Linked DNA regions of Homo sapiens: region 1 is linked to region 2. The links are contacts of gene promoters, found by promoter capture Hi-C in human tissues and cell types (Jung and others, 2019). All regions are on one chromosome and are shown on one strand. The core of a region is centred on a gene start or on the middle of the fragment in contact, and the rest is flanking DNA. Distances in the headings are between cores, read along the strand shown. Region 1 overlaps IP6K1 (inositol hexakisphosphate kinase 1). Region 2 holds the start of TRAIP (TRAF interacting protein).

What was found. Contacts are between HindIII fragments. The study calls those that stand out against the background at their distance.
Region 1: a contact is called between a fragment that was not itself captured here and the fragment with the promoter of TRAIP in region 2, in 14 of the 25 tissues and cell types used here (H1 embryonic stem cells, IMR-90 fibroblasts, adrenal gland and 11 more).

The regions. Positions count from the first base shown.
Region 1 is chr3:49,766,908-49,770,027 of GRCh38, reverse strand. All of the region lies in intron 1 of IP6K1 (inositol hexakisphosphate kinase 1), which reads left to right. Among named protein-coding and RNA genes, the nearest start is that of IP6K1, 18 kb to the left of the region's middle. The HindIII fragment of the contact is 9,567 bases long and covers 1-3,120 here.
Region 2 is chr3:49,855,270-49,858,508 of GRCh38, reverse strand. It overlaps TRAIP (TRAF interacting protein), which reads left to right and starts at 1,945. Exons shown (of 15, transcript NM_005879.3): 1 at 1,945-2,153. The coding sequence starts at 2,056. CAMKV (CaM kinase like vesicle associated) reads left to right here. Exons shown (of 11, transcript NM_024046.5): 11 at 1-520. The HindIII fragment of the contact is 12,385 bases long and covers 1-3,239 here.

The DNA of each region.
Region 1 (3,120 bases), core at 193-2,692, 88 kb after region 2:
TGCCCAGGCTGGTTTTGAACTCCTGGGCTCAAGTGATCTTTCCCTGTTGGCCTCCCAAAGTGTTGGGATTATAGGCCTGAGCCACCATGCTTGGCTTAGAGGATCTGTTTTCAAGATGACTTATTCATAAAGCTCTTTGCAGGAAGCCTCAGTTCCATATTGTTTATCTCTACCCAGGGCTTTTGTTTGTTTGTTTTTAAATTTTCCCTACTTTAAAGCTAACAAGTTATACACAGGGCTCTTTGAGTTTCCTCATGGCGTGCAGTTATCTCCTACAGAAATGATCTAAGACAAAGTAAGGAAGAAACCATGAAGCCTCTTATGACCTAGTCATACACTGTCACTTCTGCCATATTCTTTTCATTAGAATGAGTCCCTAAGTCTAGCCTGTACTCAAGGAGAGAGGAGGATTTCACTTTTTAGAGGGAAGAATGTAAAAAAATTTGACATAGTTTAAAACTACCAAAATTTTCTCTCCCCATTGGTTTGCTTTGGTACTTTTGTCGAAAAACAATTGACTGTTATATCCTGATTTGTCGCTGGCAAAAATCCCAAAAACAATTGACTCTGTAGATATGGGCCTGTTTGTGAAATCTGTGTTCTGTTCCATTGATCTATTTGTTTATCCATATGCCAGTACCCCACTACTGTAGCTTTATAGGAAGTCTTGACATGAGGCAGTGTAAATAACCCAACTTTATTGTTTATCAAGATTTATTTGAATATTACAGTTTCTTTTTATTACCATATAAATTTTAGAATTAGCTTGTCAATTTCTGTAAAAAAGTCTCCTGCCATTATGGTTGAGATTCCACTGAATTTATAGATTCATTTGGGGAGAATTGACATCTTAACTATATTGAGCCTTCTAATCCATGTGCTGTGTGAGGCATATTTCTTGATTTATGCCTTCTTTACTATCTTGCTACATTATTTCATTGTTTTTAATGTAGAATTCTTTCACGTTTTGTTAAATTTGACCCAAGACATTTGATTTTTTTGATGCTATTGTAAATGAAATTTTTAAATTGTAGTAAATATACATGAGAAAATGTAGAATTTTAACTATTTTGAAGGGTATGATGCAGTGGCATTAAATACATTCACAATGATGTTTTGAGAACTACTTTCATCATCCCAAATAGGAACTCTCCCCATTATATAGTAACACCCCATTCTCACCTCCCCCAGCCCCTTGTACGTTCTTAATAATCTTTTTGTCTCAATGAATTCGCCTATTTTATTTTATTTTATTTTTGAGACTCAGTCTCACTCTGTCACCGAGGCTGGAGTGCAGTGGCCCAGTCTTGGCTCACTGCAGCCTCCGCCTCCCAGGTTTAAGTGATTCTCCTGCCTCAGCCTCTCAAGTAGCTGGGATTACAGGTGCCCGCCACCACGGCCGGCTAATTTTTGTATTTTTGGTAAAGATGGGGTTTCACCATGTTGGCCAGGTTGATCTCGAACTCCTGACCTCAAGTGATCCACCTGCCTCAGCCTCCCAAAATGCTGGAATTACAGGCTTAAGCAACTGTGCCCAGCCCTGTTTTATTTTATGTAAGTGGAATTATAATTATATAATTTTTTCCCTTTTGTGCCTGGCTTATTTCACTTAGCAAAATGTTTTCAAGATTCATCCATGTTGTGACATGCATCAGAATTTCATTCCTTTTTAAGGCTGAATAATATTTCACTGTATGTATATACCGCATATCTTTATCCATTTATCTGTTGATGGACATGGGTCGTAGACACCATTTGGTTATTGTGAATAATGCTGTGAACATTGGTGTATAAATATCTGTTTTGGATTCCTCCTTTCAGTTCTTTTGGGTATAGACCTAAAAGTGGAATTGTTGAATCATATGGTAATTCTATGTTTAACTTTTTGAGGAATTGCCATACTGTCTTCTTTACATTCTCACCAGCAGTGCACAAGTGTTACAATTTCTTCATATCCTTGCCAACACTTATTTTCTATTTTTTTTTTTTTTTTATAACTTGGATGTGAAGTAGTTTCTCATTGTGGCTTTGATTTGCATTTCCCTAATGACTAATGAAGTTGAGCATCTTTTTGCATATTTTTTGGCCATTTGTAAATCTTCAGAGAAATGTCTAAGGCCTTTGCCCATTTATGAATTGGGTTATTTTTGTTGTTGTCGAGTTATACAAGTACTTTATATGTTCCATGTATTAATCCTTTATCAGATGTATGATCTGCAGATATTTTCTGCTATTCTGTGGGTGATGTTTTCACTCTTTTTAAATTAATTAATCGGTTTTTTAGAATAGAGATGGGATCTCACTATATTGCTCAGGGTGGTCTCAAACTCTTGGGCTTAAGTGATCCACCTGCATCAGCCTCCCAAAGTGTTGAGATTACAGGTATGAGCCACTGTACCCAGACTAATTTTATTTTTTTAAGTTGTTGTTATTATTATTATTATTTTTTGAGATGGAGTCTCACTCTGTCACCTAGCCTGGAGTGCAGTGGCGTGATCTCTGCTCACCACAGTTTCCGCCTCCCGGTTCAAGTGATTCTCCTGTTTTAGCCCCCCGAGTACCTGGGATTACAGGCACGTGCCACCACAACTGGCTACTTTTTTGTATTTTTAGTAGAGATGGGGTTTCACCATGTTAGCCAGGCTTGTCTTGAACCCCTGACCTCAGGTGATCTGCCCACCTCGGCCTCCCAAAGTGTTGGGATTACAGGCGTGAGCCACCGCGCCTGGCCAATTATTATTATTTTTTAAGAGATAGGGTCTCATCCTGTCACCCAGGCTGGAATGAGTGATATGAATGTAGCTCACTGCAGCCTCAAACTCCTGGGCTTGAGTGACTGCCTGCCTGCCTCAGCCTTCCAAGTAGCCGAGACTACTGGTATGAGCCAGTGCAACTCAGCTGATTTTTTAAAAATAAAAAAAAAAATTTTGTGGAGATGGGATCTTGTTAAGTTGCCCAGGCTGGTCTCAAACTGAGCTTAAGCAATCCTCCTGCCATGGCTTCCCAAAACTGTAGGATTTCAGGCCCTTGGATTTCTTTCTTTTTTTTTTTTTTTTTTTTTTTTTTTTTGAGACGGAGTCTTGCTCTTGTCACCCCGGCTGGAGTGCAGTGGCACGCTCG
Region 2 (3,239 bases), core at 696-3,195:
TCCCAGCCTTACTGGGTCCTTACCCTGGGCCAAACAGGGAGGGCTGATACCTCCTTGCTCTTCCTAGATGCCCACCTCCTACAATCTCAGCCCACAAGTCCTCTCCACCCTAGGGGGCTTGCTGCATGGCAATAACTCATAATCTGATTTGGAGGTTTGCCCTTTACAGGGGCAGATTTTCTGCTCAGTTCAACAATGAAATGAAGAGGAACTCCCTCTTTCTACAGCTCACTTCTATCAGAGGCCCAGGTGCCTCAGAGCCACATTGAGTTGCTTTTTCTGGGATGAGGAAGTAGGGTTAAACTCCCCAGTTTCCTGAGGGAGGCTCCTGACAGGTGCCCTTTGTCAGACCCTACCACAGCCTGGATAGGCAGCCACATTGGTCCTCGCCCTTGCTCGGCACTCCGTGGTGGTCCTGCCCTTCTCCCTGCATGCCTGTGGGTCTGCTCTGGTGTGTGAAGGTCGGTGGGTTAACTGTGTGCCTACTGAACCTGGCAAATAAACATCACCCTGCAAAGCCTCTGGCCACCCTCTCGCCTTTGCTTCCTCTGTCCTACTGGGGAGGAGCCCCTGGAAGGCAGTGGGGAAGGGAGAGGCTGGGAGCAGGTTCACAAGTAGTGGCTGGGAGTAGTAGTGAACAGTGCCCTGTGGATTTCTTGGGCTGAGGGTGAAGATCATCCTCACCACAGTGTATTCCTCAATGGTGGTGGTGGTGGGGGTCCTCTGAACTCTAGAAATCCATGTGAGTAGTGGGTCTTGGGCTGCATTTGGACCAAGGAATACTCCCTGGGCTGAGAGCTCAAGTAAGGGCTGCTGTTTTTGACTCCTGTTGACCGAGGAGCCTTACTCTTGATTTAGGCATAGAGCTGGAATCTACCTGGGCCAGCCACCGCAAGGACAGACCCTGCTCATAGCCAAAGATAGCTTCCCTGAGCTAGGGAGAGGGTGTAGGGTGAGCAATGCACAAAGATTCTATGCTGCTCTGTGTTGATTCCTTCTTTCTGTGAACACCTGTGCTTTCCACCTATGCCCCAAATGAAATCTCACTCTGGGTCTATTTCAGCTGGAGCAGATCAGCTTTATATTATGGGACTATGCACAGGGTTTCTTCTGGGTAGAGGGAGTAACACTGCCACAGATACTAAGCCTAAAAACCCAAAAGTTGACTTACTCCAGCCCAGGTGGGCCTGGGTGAACTCACCAGGGATGCTGCTCTCTGGGAGGACCTCAAAGATAACCTCCTCAAAGATAACTTCTCTGATGTGGGAATAATAAAAAGGATTTGTTAGTCTCTAGTCTTTGAAGCATCTGGGCCTCCAAAATTCCAACCCTACTACAGTCTCAAGCATAACTGATCCTCCTGAGAGCTAAGAGCTAAAGTCAGGGTACTGGCCCTAGTGTCTCCAAACTCAAGGATAGTCATATCTTACTTGGATGAAGCCAAGGTTGGCCTGGGGTGACCTGAGGGACTGGGGCCTATGTGTCCATCTTTCTAGAATCGCCCGGAACTGAGGACTGAGAGGGTAGGGTATTGTGGTCTATGGGAACTACAGACCATAGCGCATGGTCCATCACTGTCCAGAGCCCAAGGGACCCATCGGGACCATTGTTCTATTCCCTTGCGGCTGCGGTTTTCTCTGCCTTGGCCCAGCCTGCCTCGCGCCAGCTCTGGCATGGGACCACAATGCGCTGCCTTGCCCTGGAAAAGGGTCCAGCTGGCAGCCTCGCTGCTCCCCGCCTTGATATAATGCTGCGCTCTCAAGTGGCAGGTCGAGTCTCCCCAGAGGACGCCTGAGAGCGACCGCGCTCCGCCCAGGATTCTCTACGGCCTCGGGGCCGCTAAGCCCCGCCCATAGTTCCGCCCATCCGAGAATTTGTCCAATCCAGGCGAAGTATTCACGCTCCGCCCAAAGTTTTGTGTTGTCACTTCCGGCCCGCTCCAGGAAGTCGTGCTGCGGAGCCAAATTTGAAGCAAGCGGAGGCGCGGGGGCGCGTCTACGAAGCCGGACCTGTAGCAGTTTCTTTGGCTGCCTGGGCCCCTTGAGTCCAGCCATCATGCCTATCCGTGCTCTGTGCACTATCTGCTCCGACTTCTTCGATCACTCCCGCGACGTGGCCGCCATCCACTGCGGCCACACCTTCCACTTGCAGTGGTGAGTGACTGCAGTGTTGGGGCCCGGTGTTTGCCCGGGTACCGCTTCAGGGCCTTGAGGTGTTGGGCCTCCAGGCGGTCCAACCCCGGAATCCAGACAAGTGATGAGAACCTTCCTCCTAGACGAGGCCCCACGGGAGCTTCCCAACCTGGGCAGAAGTGGGTCAGGACAGGCTTTCTGGTAGAGGTGATAGCTGAGCTAAGCCTGAGGGGGACTAAGATGGCTCAGTGAAGATAGATGCTTCCTTGATCACCTATACAAACAGATGTGATTTCAAAACCGTTAGCCTGGGCAAGGGTGAGCTTTCACCACATCAACAAGTCCTTTTATTTCTTCCAGATAGAAACCTGCTAGGCTTCTGGCTACCCAAGAGAGTTTGCTGTGCCTTACTTGATGGTTTGGAATTATTCTACCCAGAGTCATCTCACTGTCCAGACACCCCAATGTATTCGCCATGTCAGCAAACCCGTTTAACATGGGGAAGGCAAGGAGATGCTCCCCTATCCAGGGGTCCTGCTGACCGTGTAGGGCCATTCTGTTGAGTGTACAGCTAGTGGGGAAAGATTCCCCTAGCAGATGTGGACAGGCCGGTTTGGACCTCCTAGCAAAAGAGATAAGGCAGCGTTACCCCTGGGAATGGTGGGTGATAATAATCACAGGGTCTTGTGGGGCTAAAGGCCCTAGGAAGCAGAAAGGCAGGCATGACACTGATGGCTGCTGGCTTACTTGCAAAGCTTTGTTTAGGCCTGTGTTGCTGACAGCCTGAGCCCCATGCTGAGGGAGCCACTGCTGTTTGGTTAGACTAGAAATTAAGCTCGCCTCTAAGCGTACTCTATTTTCTGTTTGCCTACTCTATTTTCTTCTATCCTTTTACTTTATTTATTTATTTTTATTTTATTTTATTTTTGAGATGGAGTCTCGCTCCTGTCGTGTAGGCTGGAGTGCAGTGGCGTGATCTCGGCTCACTGCAACCTCCACCTCCTGAGTTCAAGTGATTCTCCTTCCTCAGCCTCCCAAGTAGCTGACATTACAGGCGTGCGCCACCACGCCCAGCTAATTTTTGTGTTTTTCATAGACAGGGTTTCT